Linked DNA regions of Homo sapiens: all the other regions are linked to region 4. Evidence: promoter capture Hi-C in 16 types of primary human blood cells and fetal thymus (Javierre and others, 2016). All regions are on one chromosome and are shown on one strand. Each heading gives the region's core, a stretch centred on a gene start or on the middle of the fragment in contact. The rest is flanking DNA. Distances are from core to core; before and after follow the strand shown.

Region 1 (3,561 bases), core at 519-3,018, 310 kb after region 4:
ACTTTCTAGAAACATGTTGAATGGCTTTGATCAAAATGCTGATAGTGATATGGACAATAAAGTCCAGACTGAGGTGCTGTCAGATGGAGATGAGGAACCTGTTGGGAACTAGAGCAGAAGTGACTCTTGTTAGGCTTTAGCAAAGAGAGTGGCGGCATTTTGCCCCTGCCCTAGAGATCTATGGAGCTTTGAACTTGAGAGAGATGATTAGGGTATCTGGTGGAAGAAATTTCTAAGGAGCCAAGCGTTCAAGAGGAAGCAGAGCATAAAAGTTTGGAAAATTTGCAGCCCAACAATGCGATAGAAAAGAAAACCTCATTTTCCTCAGGAGAAATTCAAACCTGCTGCAGAAATTTACATAAGTAACAAGGAGCCAAATGTTAATCACTAAGACAAGGGGAACATGTCTCCAGGGCATTTCAGAGACTTTTGCAGCAACCCCTCCCATCACAGCCCTGGAGGCTTAGGAGGAAAAAATGGTACTGTGGGCCAGGCCCAGGGCTCCCCCTGCTGTGTGCAGCCTAGGGACTTGGTGCTCTGCATCCTAGCCGCTCCAGCCGTGGCTAAAAGGGGCCAACGTATAGCTCAGGCCATTGCCTCAGAGGGTGCAAGCCCCAAGCCTGGCAGCTTCCACGTGGTATTGAGCTCACAGGTGCACAGAAACCAAGAACTGAGGTTTGAGAACCTCTGGCTAGATTTCCAAGGATATATGGAAATACCTGGATGTCCAGACAGAAGTTTGCTGCAAGGGTGGAGCCCTCGTGGTTCTGCTAGGGCAGTGCAGAAGGGAAACATGGGGTTGGAGCCCCCACACAGAGTTCCCACTGCAGCACTGCCTAGTGGAACTGTGAGAAGGTGGTCACTGTCCTCTGGATCTCAGAATGGTAGATCCACTGACAGCTTGCACTGTGTGCCTGGAAAAGCTGGAGACACTTAATACCAGCCTGTGAAAGCAGCCAGGAGGGGAGCTGTACCCTGCAAAGCTACAGGGTTGGAGCTGCCCAAGGCCATGGGAGTCCACCTCTTGTTATCAGCATGACCTGGATGTGAGACATGGAGTCAAAAGAGGTCATTTTGGAACTTTAAGATTTAATGACTACCCTGTTGGTAGTCATTAAACTTTAAGATTTAATGACTATCCTGTTGGATTTCAGACTTGCAAGGGGCCTGTAGTCCCTTTGTTTTGGCCAGTTTCTCCCATTGGAACAGCTGTATTTACCCAATGCCTGTACCACCACTGTATCTAGAGAGTAACTCACTTGCTTTTGATTTTACAGGCTCATAGGTAGAAGGGACTTGCCTTGTCTCAGATGAGACTTTGGACTTGGACTTTTGGGTTGATGCTGGAGTGAACTAAGACTTTGGGGGACTGTTGGAAAGACATGATTGTGACTTGAAATGTGAGGACATGAGATTTGGGAGGGGCCAGGAGTGGAATGATGTAGTTTGGTTGTGTCACCACGCATGTCTCATCTTGAATTGTAGTTCCCATAATCCCCATGGGTTGTGGGAGGACCCAGTGGGAGGTAATTGAATCATGGGGGCAGTTACCCTCTGCTGCTCTACTCGTGATAGGAGGCCTATCTTTATAATGTATTTCTCATGAGCCTTGAACAAAGTTCTTTAAATCCTTTGGATTATTAATGTATTAAACTCTACTTTTTTCTTACCCAAATCTACATTTTTTATTTACCTTTAAAAATCGAGTATGTGGAATTTTTCTTTGAATTTTTTTCCCACAAAAATGTTGAATTTAATTTGACCATTCTCACAATCACATAGAGTTGACTTAATAGTACAAAATGATACACTTTGGATCAGTAGTATTTCATGGGAAGGCTGCAGTTGAAAACCTAAAGCCACTAATACATTCTATTAGAAATAAAAGGAATAATATGTAGGCAATTAATTATATAAAACATGCTAACAATTGGATGAAATTAAACCAAAAGCTGATATTCTGGATTTACAGTCATCATAGAAAGGAATTATGTGGTGCTGTAGATTGATTCAGTCAACAGTTCTTTATTGATCACATCTTTGGTACTAGGGGTACAAAGATGATGAAGACATAATGCTATCCTAGAGGACTTTGTATTCTAGTGAAGGCAAAGACATGCAGACATCAGTGTAATATAATAAAAGTGCTCAATACAAAGATCACTGTAGAAGTTATGATGCTTATAGTTATCTGTAACAGAAACCCCAGCTGAAGTGGCTTAAACAATACACAGAGTTTATTGGTCATGTACAGGTATATCTGAAAATTACAGAGACAGGTGAGGCTTGCTGTAATAGCTCAGTATGCTTCCTTTTACCTGTTTCTCCTCAATGCTTTCCACATGTTAACTTTATCCTAAGGCTGACTCCCTTTGAGGTTGTATCATGACTACTAATAACTCTCAGGGCTACCCCCAGAAAGAGAGCTTTTGTCTTCCAACCATCAGACTAAAGTCTTGGGTTCACTCTGACTAGATCAACTTTTACTGTATGCAACTCTTTCACTAGATTGACTAAAAGTATAATTTTGGGTTGAGTGAGAAACTAAAAGTCCAGAACTTCCAAAGTACCTAGTATACCTATAAAAATTGGTGTTAGTCTTATTTTGGCTTTATTATTCCTAATTTTGTTTTCTTCTAATATACAGAAAATCAGGAATCCTCAATGGTGGGAAGTAAATTGATAAGATCATAGTTCAATAATCTTCCAAATTTTTGAAAGCCTAAAAATTATGTCTTTGGAGATTTGTGATTTTGTGCTCATATCAACGCAGAAATTAAGAACCCAACATAACAACTGTCTCTTCTCCATTATTTCTTTCCTTGTAACTGGGACAGTAAGGTGGATTTTGATATTGGGTTCACATGGTTCATGGTTGGGCTGTTTCAAGTCTCAATTACATTTGCAGTAGCAAAATGCCAAGGCCAGAAATGTCAGGGCTTACCACAATGACCTTATACTTATGATTTGAGCAGTAATTGGGGAAGCCTTCTGTTTTTTACTTTGCTACTAATTTACATTTAATCAGGCTATTCATAGTATATAATACTTTAAAAGCTGAATTAGTAATACAAAGCTACTTTTCTTTCAGAGTAAGCACTTCCATTTGTTCTCTTTCTGCATAGTCTCTGGTTCACCACATTTGCATTCACTGCAGTTCTGTTTCTCTCCATGACAAGTGTTCATTCAGGAGCCACAGCATGTGACACTGCTATAGGATTGCCAGATCTTATTTTAGAGAATTTGGACAAGGAGGCAGTAGGAGAGAGATTATTTGCTAATAGTCTGACCAGGCTAAAATACAGTCCCATTCTGCATTATAACACAGTTGGAACAAGGCACTCAAATACAGGATAAGCCTGTGAATGTGGGCCATCTGGTAATCCAGTACTGCTTGAGTGTAGGCCTCTCAGCTCTACAAACAGCCTGTGGAGATAAATTTGACACACTTGGTGTATAAGGGTTCCTGCCCTAACTTAGAAAAGAATTACTTCTTTGTGCTAAAATTATATTAAATGTTACTTGGAAATAAAGGAAAAAGTAATTTACATTTCCTATTGA
Region 2 (3,786 bases), core at 438-2,937, 350 kb after region 4:
GTTGCCCCTCCACACCTGTGGGTGTTTCTCGTTAGGTGGAAGGAGAGACTTGGAAAAGAAAGACACAGAGACAAAGTATAGAGAAAGAAATAAGGGGACCCAGGGGACCAGCGTTCAACATATGGAGGATCCCGCCAGCCTCTGAGTTCCCTTAGTATTTATTGATCATTTGTGGGTGTTTCCCCGAGAGGGGGATGTGTCAGGGTCACAAGACAATAGTGGGGAGAGGGTCAGCAGACAAACACGTGAACAGTGGTCTTTGCATCATAGACAAGGTAAAAGAATCAAGTGCTGTGCTTTTAGATATGCATACACATAAACATCTCAATGCTTTACAAACCAGTATTGTTGCCCGCATGTCCCACCTCCAGCCCTAAGGCGGTTTTTCCCTATCTCAGTAGATGGAATGTACAATCGGGTTTTATACTGAGACATTCCATTGCCCAGGGACGGGCAGGAGACAGATGCCTTCCTCTTGTCTCAACTGCAAGAGGCATGCCTTCCTCTTATACTAATCCTCCTCATTACAGACCCTTTATGGGTGTCGGGCTGGGGGACGGTCAGGTCTTCCCCTTCCCACGAGGCCATATTTCAGACTATCACATGGGGAGAAACCTTGGACAATACCTGGCTTTCCTAGGCGGAGGTCCCTGCGGCCTTCCGTAGTGTTTGTGTCCCTGGGTACTTGAGATTAGGGAGTGGTGATGACTCTTAAGGAGCATGCTGCCTTCAAGCATCTGTTTAACAAAGCACATCTTGCACAACCCTTAATCCATTTAACCCTGAGTTTGACACAGCACATGTTTCAGAGAGCACGGGGTTGGGGGGTAATAAGATCATAGATTAACAGAATGTCAAGGCAGAAGAATTTTTTAGTATAGAACAAAATGGAGTCTCCTATGTCTACTTCTTTCTACACAGACACAGTAACAATCTGATCTCTCTTTCTTTTCCCCACAGAAATGAAGAATAATGCTTGTTTCACGAGTTTAAGGATATAATGCTAAGGTGCATCAAAACACTTTGTAAACTAAAAAGCAGGTTGCACATGTAAAATTTAAATACCTAATTTTCAAAATTACTTTTGCTACTGTTTCACCATCACAAGTATTTAATATTTCAGTCTTTTAAATTTGTATATTTTTTCCCTGAGATGTACCTACACTGTGAGTAGTTAGTTTGAGTCTTGTTCTTGATTTGCCTTATTGAATCTAAGACTTAGAGCATAATGTTTATGAATTATGTTTCCACAAAGATAGATCTAAGAGTGTATCTCCTTCAAAGGTAATACAATAGCTTCAAAGGTAGCATTTCACCCACAGAGGAAGCTATTGGGTATTGCAATAATTACATGAAATAGATGCTGGTTGAGAGACCTTAGTGTGAGTATGGAGCTGCAAAAGTTTTTTGAATAAGACCTCTTTTACTTCCAAAGGTTATAGTAATGTTCATGAATTAACATTAAATAGAACTCATCTCCATTCTACCCACCTTCAGAATATTCCTGTATGAAGTTGGCAGTGCACATAGAATGGTTTTAATAAAGTAAAAGGAAAGAAAATAGAGGACTGCTCCTCCAAGAAAAAAACATAAAGGGCCAAAAAAAAAAAATTGTGTTGACCAAGAAAAAGTACCATAAATCATTAACCCATTTAGCCTAGTGTTCCATTATTGGAACTAGGCTTGTGGGAGTTATTTATATCCTACTGCTCAAGGCCATCGTCAAGGTTTGATTTTTCACACAAAAAATTTGCAACCTCAGGTATAAATGGGTTAATGCCTTTAGCATTATTTCATTGCATTTATGTCTTATCCTTTTGATATAAGGAGTTGACGCAGATTTTTTAAATTGCAGTCTTCTCTGCAATAGGGAAAGCTACTTGCAACGTGTAAACAGCTATTGAATTATTGAAATACTTAATTTTTGACTATTTATTTATATTTAACTCGATGAACATTCACTGGGGACCTGCTGTAGCTAAAACATTATTTCCTAATCTTGAGAAGTTCACCATTTCAGGAGAAGAAAAAACAGCCAACTTTTGTTAGGGAAGTCAGAGAAGATGTCACAAAGGAAGTGACATTGCTAGAAAGGAGTTTGCCAATAGGAAGATGCCAGAAAGACCAAAGTTTAAAAAATAAAAATAATGGTCAAAGAATTGGGGACTTTTAAAAACTCATCAAGACTCTTAAAAAATGATAGCCATCCCCCATATCTAAATGTTTGAATACACTAGCTTTCATAAATTTTAGAAATGGTAAAATATGGTCTTTAGCCTTAAGATTCATGTAAAAATGAATGCAATCAAGAGAGGGTTACATATGGATTAAGAGCACATCAGGTATGTGAATCTTTGTAATTTCATTTGTCTAGGTTCTTATCTACTGCATAGCAGATTAGTGGATTCTTCTTACATTAAATAATAGCTCACCATATGACATTTATATAGTAGAAATATTTAGACTCTTGATTTTGAATTTTAAGAGATGTTTGACAAAATAAATATTACTTGAGATTTTACTATCATTAACAGTTACCTTTCTTTAAAAACACTGAAAATATAGTTGTCCCTTGACGTACACAAGGGGGATTGGTTCCAGGACTCTCAAGTATACCAAACTCCGTGCATACCCAAATCCCACAGTCAGCCCTGCAAAACCCACATATATGAAATGTTGGTCCTCCGTATACATGGGTTTTGTATCCCCAAGTAATCTGCATAGAAGTGGACTTCTGCAGTTCAAACTTTTGTTCAAGGATAAACTGTACGTGGAATGAAGAAACAATAAGGTTTTAGTTTCCGTATTTCCTAAAATTCCTAGCAATTTTTAGGGAGAAAATTGGGGTAAGGAGGTTCTTTGTAGTTGTGGTTTAAAAAAAAAAAAAGTATGTAATTGAGTGTATATACTTGAAAAAGATGAGAAGACCTAAAAGTAAATTTGACAGCATTCAGAAAGTATTGGCATTTGCTTGTAGGAGTTCTCAATCTGAGCACTGTTGACATTTTGGGCCAGATAATCCTTTGTTTTGGGAGGGCTGCCCTGTGCATTCTAGAATGTTTAGCAGCATTGCTGGACTCTTCCCATTAGTTGCCAGTTAACACCCTTTAATCCCAAGTTGTGACAACAAAAAAATGTCCCCAGATATTGCCAAATGTCTCCTCAGGGACAAAATTGCCCCGGTCAAAAACCACTGGCTTATGTCAACTAGGATTTATCATACTGTCTATGTCTTTCCTTCCCGTACAAACTTGACATTCTCATCTAGCTCCCATTGCAAAGGGCCTGTTATTTGTATTTATATTATTTGATGATAACAATAATCATAGAACTTTAAGATGATAAAAGTTGAATAAACGTGAAATGGTTTGTAAGGGCAGGGTTTTGTTTTTTATCAAGAAGTAATAAAAATAATTGTAATCACGTTGCATGTAAAGCATTGTTTAAAAAAAATAGACACCATGCATCATTGTGAATGGCTTGTTTCTTTAAATGCCATTTATTAGAAAGATTATTTTCATCAGTGCTTCTCTAAATATCATATATTAGTTACTATAAGCCCGTTATCGCAGGTGTCTATGGTTAGTGTGTATTACATTTATAGAGGAAAAATGAGAGTATTTATGTTTAGAAATTAAAGGCTACATTTTAATTTTTAAAAATCTTACCATTTTTATTAGTGATCTTGAAAAAATAATTCATTACGTTTCTTTTTCTCTTAACTTTTATTTTAGTTTCAGGGTACATGTGCAGGTTGGTTCTGTAGATAAATGGTATGTCACGGGG
Region 3 (3,768 bases), core at 726-3,225, 330 kb after region 4:
GTTTGTAAAGTTAGCTAGTAATTGAAAAGGTTATTTCTGAAAAAAAAATTGTCTTTCACTTCCAAGTGTTATTTTCAGGGTTTTCAGATTATCTTATTTATCATATTATAGAAACAGAAATCTCAAGGAGGTTTATCTTACTGAATGTGTGTGGGCTTGGAAGCCACAGAAATAAGTTACATGGTTTATCCATAGACATTTAAACCCAACCCGGTCCTTAAAATAATCTAATTGGAATAGATTTCTCTCTTTCATAATTGTAAAATACCACAAGTACTCCAAACTAAACATGTTTACAAATCTGTTAAGTTTGTGTAAATGTGAGTTTACTATCTAGCCAAGGTTTTTATCCTTGGAATTTAATTCAATTTCTAGAATAGTCTCTCCCACTTTTTATTCTAAAGTGATTTAATAGTGAAAAAGAAAACTATTTTAGTGTACAGATGCTCTGTTTGTGCTGCTATAACAAAATGCCTGAGACTGAGTAATTTATAAACAACAGAAATTTATTTCTCACACTTCTGGAGGCTGGGAAGTGCAAGATCAAGGTGCCAACAGGTTTGGTGTCTGGCAAGGACCCATTTCTCATAGAGTGCACACACACTGTGTCCTCACATGGCAGAAGAGATGGAAGGGCAAAAAAGAGTAGACACTGCTTGAAGTCTCTTTTATTAAGAGTCTTAATCTCCTTCACAAGGGAGGAGCACTCATGACCTAATCTCCTCCTCAGTGTCCTGCCTCTTTGAGATTAAGTTTCAACGTGAGTTCTGGAGGGACTTAGCAGATGCATACACAGGAAATATTACTTATAAGATTAAGACCTATATATTGATGTAAAGGTGTTCATCGTAAGTGAAAAGAGTAGGTTTCAGAATTGTATGATTCCACTTATGTAAAGTTTCTGAGATACAAATAGTTTATAAAATGTCCGTTTAAAATAGTCTGGTAGGTTATAGACCAAACTATTGGTATTGCTTACTGTTGAGTAACATTTTGGATAAAGAAGAGACCTTTAATTTCCAAACTTTTCTATTGATTGGAACTTTAGAGTGAACATGTATTAATTTTATAGCTATCTGGCTAATATTTTTATAAGAAGTATTGATTTAAAACTAGTCATAATACATGTTCTATATCAACTAAAAAGCTTTAATAAAAGCCAGCTAAACCTATTGGACATCGTTTCTTTTGATGTTTAAGAGATGATATTGATGAATGAGATATAAAAATGAGAATATAATTAATTTCAGTGACTACTTTAGACATTCATTCATTCCATAAATATTTATCAGGCTGCTTTTCTGTGCCAGGCACTGTTCTGCACACTGGAGATACAACAATGAGCAAATCAGATTTTTAAAAAGCAAAAAATTGGCTGGGCACAGTGGCTCACACCTGTAATTCCAGCACTTCAGGAGGCTGAGGCAGGAAGATTGCTTGAGCCCAGAAATTCAATACCAGCCTGGGCAAGATAATGAGACCCCATCTCTGCAAAAAATGAAAAATAAACTAGCCAGGTGTGGTGGCATGCACCTATGCCCCCAGCCACTCAAGAGGCTGAGGTGGGAGGATCACTTGAGCCCAGGAGGTCGAGGCTGCAGTGAGCTGTGATTGCACTACACTCCAGCCTGGGTGACATAATGAGACCCTGTCTCAAAAAAAAAAAAAAAAAAAAAAAAAAAACTGGAGCCAGGCACAGTAGGACAGTAGTAATTCATGCCTGTAGTCCTAGCTTACATTTCAGTAGAATTGTTTAGGGATATTAAGTCTGTTGCTTAAACTTGTAAAACTTTATTATATATTGAAAAACATGCGTTGACTAATTTTATGAGTATTAATTGTCTTCTTTTACAGTAACTGGACCTCTGTCAGAACTGCAAATTGCATATGTTAGCAGAGAAACACTGCAGGTAAATCAAGTGCTAATTCAAAAATAACATTTTTCATTAAACTAAGGCTTTACTTACTGTGCATTACCTGTTCAGCAAAGTAAGAACTAAATATTTTAGTTTGGTAAACTCTTAAAATGAGTTTTAATACATTTGAAAATTGTGTAATGAACTCAAATTATATTTACAAATAAATACTTTAAAGCATAAATGTGATGATATAACCTAAAATTTAAGCACTATGCATCTGTTATTGTATATTTTCCTCTTAATACCAAAGAAAGGCTTGAAAATTAAGCACTATCATGGGAATTCAAACACTCTGATACTAATTAGGTATATACTTTTTAAAAGTTATTTCAAACTATTTGTAGAATTCACTGAAAATTTTCTTAGAAAAATTAGTCATTTTCTTGATCTTTTTTTAGGATATCTCATTAAAATATGTTAATGATTAGTACTAGATCTCCTGTAAAGATTAAATAAAATACACAGAATACTACCCATTTGATTACATAAAATCCAAAAGAGTGCTCTTTGATAAAATCTTGTTTATTTTTCTGTTTTTTGAAACTCCAGGGATTATATTATCTTCACAGTAAAGGAAAAATGCACAGAGATATAAAGGTATACATTATATTTTTAACATAATAACCCTCTCTTCATTTTTAAATACTCTGATCAAATTGTTTTGAGCAAAATTGTTTTATTTGATAAATGCATCTGAAATGTTACCATAATAAAAATGAGTGATACTTTTAATAGTTTAATTTTTTATAGCAGCTTTATTGAGGCACAATTCACATACCATAAAATTCACCCTTTTAAAGTATATCATTCAGTAGATTAATGTTTTAATAACTCATTTTAGCTTCTTTGTAGTTATTGATTAGTAAAATGCAGAGTAAGCTTATAGCTTTCATCAAGTTATAGTTTTTAGTAAGTTTTATGCTTTGACTATTTCAGTGAGCTTTCGCAGTCTTAAGTCTAAGTCTTAGTAATGCATCAAAATGGATAAATTGACCTTTGACACTTTCTCATAGTCTTTTTTTTTTTTTTTTTTTTTTTTTTTTTTGAGATGGAGTCTCGCTCTGTTGCCCAGGCTAGAGTGCAGTGGCACGATGTCGGCTCACTGCAACCTCCCCTCCCGGGTTCAAGTGATTCCCCTGCCTCAGCCTCCCGAGTAGCTGGGATTACAGCCACCTGCCACCATGCTTGGCTAATTTTCATATTTTTAGTAAAGACAGGATTTCATCATGTTGGCCAGGCTGGTCTCGATCTCCTGACCTCAGGTGATCATCCCACCTCGGCCTCCTAAAAGTGCCAGGATTACAGACGTGAGCCACTGTGTCCTGCCTTCTCATAGTCTTTTATTTATTTAGCTGGCAAAGGAGAGCAGGTGCTCTGAATGTGCTGGGGTTAGCCCAGTGGTACAGCATGTGCTCTGGTAGGAATCCTTAGCATATTTCTAAAGATACTGCCATCTCCCCAGTTTAGATTTTTTTTCTTTCACTTATTTTTCTTGTGCCTTCTTTGTTCATCCTTCCTCATATTTCTCTCTTCCCCTTTTGTTTTCTAACATTTTCTCTAACATAAAGATTTTTAACCTTTTTTGAGGATAGAGGCTGGGGCAAATCTTACTGTCCTCTGGGTTTCTGATGATAAACTATGAACTGTCTTCTGAGAAAATGCCCTTATGCGCATGTCTTCAAATTTTCCAAGAAATTTCAATGGACTCGCAGATAACCTGCTGAGATCCCTTGTTTGAAGGTATTTTTTTGTGATCCACTTAAAAGACATAAAGAGCTTTTGGAGTTCAAAGGTAGAAGAGCTCACAGGAAGATGAGCAGCTCAAGAAAGGTTCTGTGTCATTGGCATG
Region 4 (3,866 bases), core at 1,124-3,623:
TTACGGAAGTACTGGGCTAGACAACCATTTGTCAGAAAGATTGTAGAAGGGAATTTGAACAACCAGTAGATGTTCAACTTCAATGACCTCTAAAGTCCTTCCACCTCTATTATTTGACCCTGGACTGCCCTGGAACTGGCACCTCAGTTAGCCAGGGCATTTGCAGAGGCATTGTGCAATATCCTGTGGGGGTCCCCTCTTCTACTGTAGGTTTGACTCTGCCCTGCTGTTTCAGGCATTGCTCTATATCCAATTTACATGCAATCAAATACTCTAAGCATAGAAAGTGTAAGGAAATGCAGTTCTGTCATTTCCAAAGACAGACTACACTGCTTAGCTTTCAAAATTGCCTTGCCTAAATGAGCACTCCATAACTGAGCCTCCACATTCAGCTTTTACAGTTTGTTCATGTACTATGCTACTATCAGAATTAATTATGCAGCATCTTCATGAGGAGAAATCAGATTTGGATGCAAGTTAGGAGAGAAAAGAAAATGGTGCACTTCCCAAAAGATTTTACTGTATCTGGTTCCCCTAAAAGTGCTGGAGTCCTTCCACACGCAGACAGATTTTGGATGGCAGTCCCCAGCTGAGTTAGCCATGGGAAGGAGGAAGTTGACATGTTTGAGAAATGAAGAATCCGCCAACTAGCAAGACTCTGAAGGCCAACACATTATTAACCCCCTCTTTTCTATGTCATTCCATTCCAGGCTGTAACTCAACACAAATCCGTCTGTTTGTTTTCCTACATGGCTACTAAATATTAAAATGTACTGATTTTGGACTTTTTCTTTTTTGGCATCATGAGTCCAAGAGAAGAGATGTTGATTTTTTTTTTTAATCTCAAAGGGGAAAAAAATACATTGAGTCAAGTTCTGAAAGTTAAAGGAAGCTTCACAAGTTGTCACACTGAATATTTTTACGTGAATGGGATTACCAAAAAAAAAAAAAAAATCAAACTATCTGATAGCATTCACAGAAGACAGGTGTTGCACAGATTTCAGAAGAACAAATTGATGCTCTGCAACTCAGTGCCAAACAAAACAAACAACAAAAACAACCTGACAAGGTACCACGAACAGAAGACAGAGTGATAAGCAGAGAGTGAGTGCCCAAATCTGGAAAGCTCTAGTTTAAAGGGCGAGGACATTTTCTCTCCTCAGTGCCTGGACAGCGAGGAGGGTGGGGGTATGGGGTCCTCAGGAAGGTTGGAAAGCAGGTGTCCTATCTGCCTCGGGCAGCCTCCACCAGCCTCCACCAGCCAACGATTGGTCTCTGAAGTCTAATCCACACACACCCTGCACTTCAGGGGTATGAAGGAAGGTTCCGGGGCCTCCTTCGCTGCCCATCAGCCCTGCCAGGCTGGGATGACCACATCAGTTCCGTCTGACACCAGCATCCGCACAATACAGGCAAAGCCCCTTCCCTCTCTTCGGAGGTCGGCACCACTTTTCTTCCAAACGGTATTTCCAAAAGGAGCACAACTTGAAGGAAGGAGCCCGGGTGAGAAAAGTCGAGTCTTTGACGGTTAGTCCCCCTCACGGGGAGCAGCGTCAAGAAAAGACACACATGTCAGGCAGGTGTACAAAGGCAGAGAAGGACGGGGAGAGAGAGAGAACCGGGGAATGGGAGGCGAAGGCAGGAAAGAAGGAGACAGAGGCGGGAGGTGCGGCACGGACTTGAAAGGACGCGCAGGATGTGGACGAAAGAAGAGAGTCAAGGAGAGGGAGAAGAAGGGAGGCAGTGGGGAAAGAAAGGGAAGAGATAAAGACTGGAGGCGGCGGGAAGGATGCAAGAATGCCCAGGCGCGGGGCCGCGGCTGGGAGGGGGCTGCGGGGACCGGCGCGCCCCTGGGAAGCCGCGGGCTGCGCTCCACGCGCGGGCGCCGGGGACGCGGGGTGCGCCCGCCGCTCACCTTTCAGGATGAGGGTGTCGATGTCCCGGTCGATGCCCAGGAAGTAGCACTTCCTCCAGAGGCCCGAGTAGGTGGCGAAGAGGGGCCGGCCGCACTCGGCGTCCAGCCCGCCGAGCCCCAGGAGCGAGCGCCAGGACTCGGGGTCGGCGCGCCCCGGGCCGCCCGGGAGCAGCCGGCGCCCCAGCGGGGGCGAGTCCCGCAGCGGCAGGTGCGACAGCGGCATCAGGCGGTTCTTCTGGTCCGGGGGGTCGGCGCCCGCGCGGCTGCGCTCGCAGCTCTCCTTGTGGCGCCGGGGGTCGGTCTCGTACCAGTGGTCGGTGAAGATGGCCGTGACGAGCAGCCCCAGGGAGCACAGGCTGAGGCCGAGGCTGAGCGCCGTGACGAGCGCCCGCGGCTCCATGGCTTCCCGCCCCGCCGCAGCCGCCGGTGGGCTCGCGCGCCGCCGCCAGACACAATGCACTTGGCCCCAGCTCTCCGCCCGCTCCCTCCCTCTTCCCCCCACCTGCCCCCCACCTCCCTCCTACGGCCTCCTCGCCCTGCGAGCCCGGCCCGGCTCGCTCCCTCTCCCCTGGCCTGATCTCGCCTCCCACCGCCCGCCCGCCCCCGGCCCGGCCCCCGGGCTCCTAGCCCTCCCCCGCGCCGCTCTCGCTTTCTTGCCCCCCTCCTCTTCCCCAGCCCCCTCTCCTCGCCCCGGCGCCCCCCACCCCGCGCACTCCTCTCGCCCCTCTCCCTACCTCCGATCCACAGTCCGCCCTCCTCTCCAGCGACCCCCCTTCCCCTTTTAATCTCTCCTCGCCGCCCTCATCCTCCTCTCTCCCCTTAACCCTGTCCCTACTTTCCCCCGACTTTTCTCCAACTCTTCCTCTCACACTTTCCCCCACTCATTTGCTCCTCTGCTCCCCGGCTCCTGGTGCATTTATATCCCGGCTCTGGACTCGGTGCCTCTCTCCACCTACCCCTCGGCACACCCCTCCCGTCCTCTTCCCTCCAACGACCTTAAAAGACATCCACCGACATAAGACTCACTCTTGTCACTTGTCCAAGTTGATTTTGATCAGTGTCCCGTTTTGTACCCAGGAGCAAATCCCATCCAGGTCGGGCTGCGTGGTAGCGTTTAACTCCTTGGAATCTTGATCTGGAGTCCGAAGGTCCCTTTGTCCTGCCGCCTGCCGCCTGCAGGATGAAGCCTCTGAGACCCCTAGGCAGCCAGCTCTATCTGTCGCGGCTCTTTCCCTCTCACTTGCCCATCGCTTAGCCTCTAAGCATTCTCTCTGCTCAAGCCCCTCTTCTGAAAGAAAAAGACACCGAGTGTCAGTGGAGCGATAGAACGATGACCAGAGATTTTTCTCCCACTTCATTTCAACCTGCTATGAGATGGACTTCTTTTTTCGTTGACTACGTCCATCTCCCGCCAGACTGACTGGCCTCCTGGAATTTCTAGAAGAGCCTGGAATCAATGAACCCTGGCAGTGGCACCTGCTCCATGAGGTGATTATTGCCTTTGCATACAGCAAGCCCCCAGTAATAAATCAAAGTAATGATTTTCTCCTGTGCAGGTTTCCTTCTTGGGCTGGGGGGTGGGGGTCAACAGCAAAGCAATGCTACACACCAAAGTCAACACCTGAGCCTGGGGCAGTTCTTCCATCTTCCAGTCACAGAGGTTACTTCCAAGAATGGCAGGCAGATTCACATTTTCTAAAATGAGGAAACGCTAGGACCCGGGGTGCTAAGAGTTAATCACTTGTGCGGTATAGTCAGTCTATACCACAGAGGTGCAATACACTCGTGCCACTCAATGCCCTTGTGGTCATGTCAGAGACAGAAAACCATGCTGCACTGGCCCAGGGATGAAAATGCTTGTGTTCTTATGCTATGAAATATTAATGATGAAGAAATTATGAGGCATTCATTACATGCTAAATGTCATTACTCCATGATTTAATGGGACTTA

What was found. The method cuts DNA at HindIII sites, captures the fragments that hold promoters and counts their contacts. A CHiCAGO score of 5 or more calls a contact.
Region 1: a contact is called between a fragment that was not itself captured here and the fragment with the promoter of TMEM178A in region 4, in 1 of 17 cell types (total B cells). The highest score is 6.3, in total B cells.
Region 2: a contact is called between a fragment that was not itself captured here and the fragment with the promoter of TMEM178A in region 4, in 1 of 17 cell types (total B cells). The highest score is 5.9, in total B cells.
Region 3: a contact is called between a fragment that was not itself captured here and the fragment with the promoter of TMEM178A in region 4, in 2 of 17 cell types (total B cells and erythroblasts). The highest score is 6.1, in total B cells.

What each region holds. Positions count from the first base shown.
Region 1 is chr2:39,356,811-39,360,371 of GRCh38, reverse strand. The region is part of intron 2 of MAP4K3 (mitogen-activated protein kinase kinase kinase kinase 3); the gene reads left to right. Among named protein-coding and RNA genes, the nearest start is that of MAP4K3, 79 kb to the left of the region's middle. The HindIII fragment of the contact is 6,021 bases long and covers 1-3,561 here.
Region 2 is chr2:39,318,331-39,322,116 of GRCh38, reverse strand. The region is part of intron 12 of MAP4K3 (mitogen-activated protein kinase kinase kinase kinase 3); the gene reads left to right. Among named protein-coding and RNA genes, the nearest start is that of CDKL4, 76 kb to the right of the region's middle. RefSeq lists an enhancer at 622-1,541. The HindIII fragment of the contact is 8,773 bases long and covers 1-3,786 here.
Region 3 is chr2:39,335,668-39,339,435 of GRCh38, reverse strand. It overlaps MAP4K3 (mitogen-activated protein kinase kinase kinase kinase 3), which reads left to right. Exons shown (of 34, transcript NM_003618.4): 5 at 1,855-1,910; 6 at 2,469-2,516. Among named protein-coding and RNA genes, the nearest start is that of CDKL4, 94 kb to the right of the region's middle. The HindIII fragment of the contact is 1,651 bases long and covers 1,150-2,800 here.
Region 4 is chr2:39,664,424-39,668,289 of GRCh38, reverse strand. It overlaps TMEM178A (transmembrane protein 178A), which reads right to left and starts at 2,373. Exons shown (of 4, transcript NM_152390.3): 1 at 1,916-2,373. The coding sequence starts at 2,315. The HindIII fragment of the contact is 3,333 bases long and covers 895-3,866 here.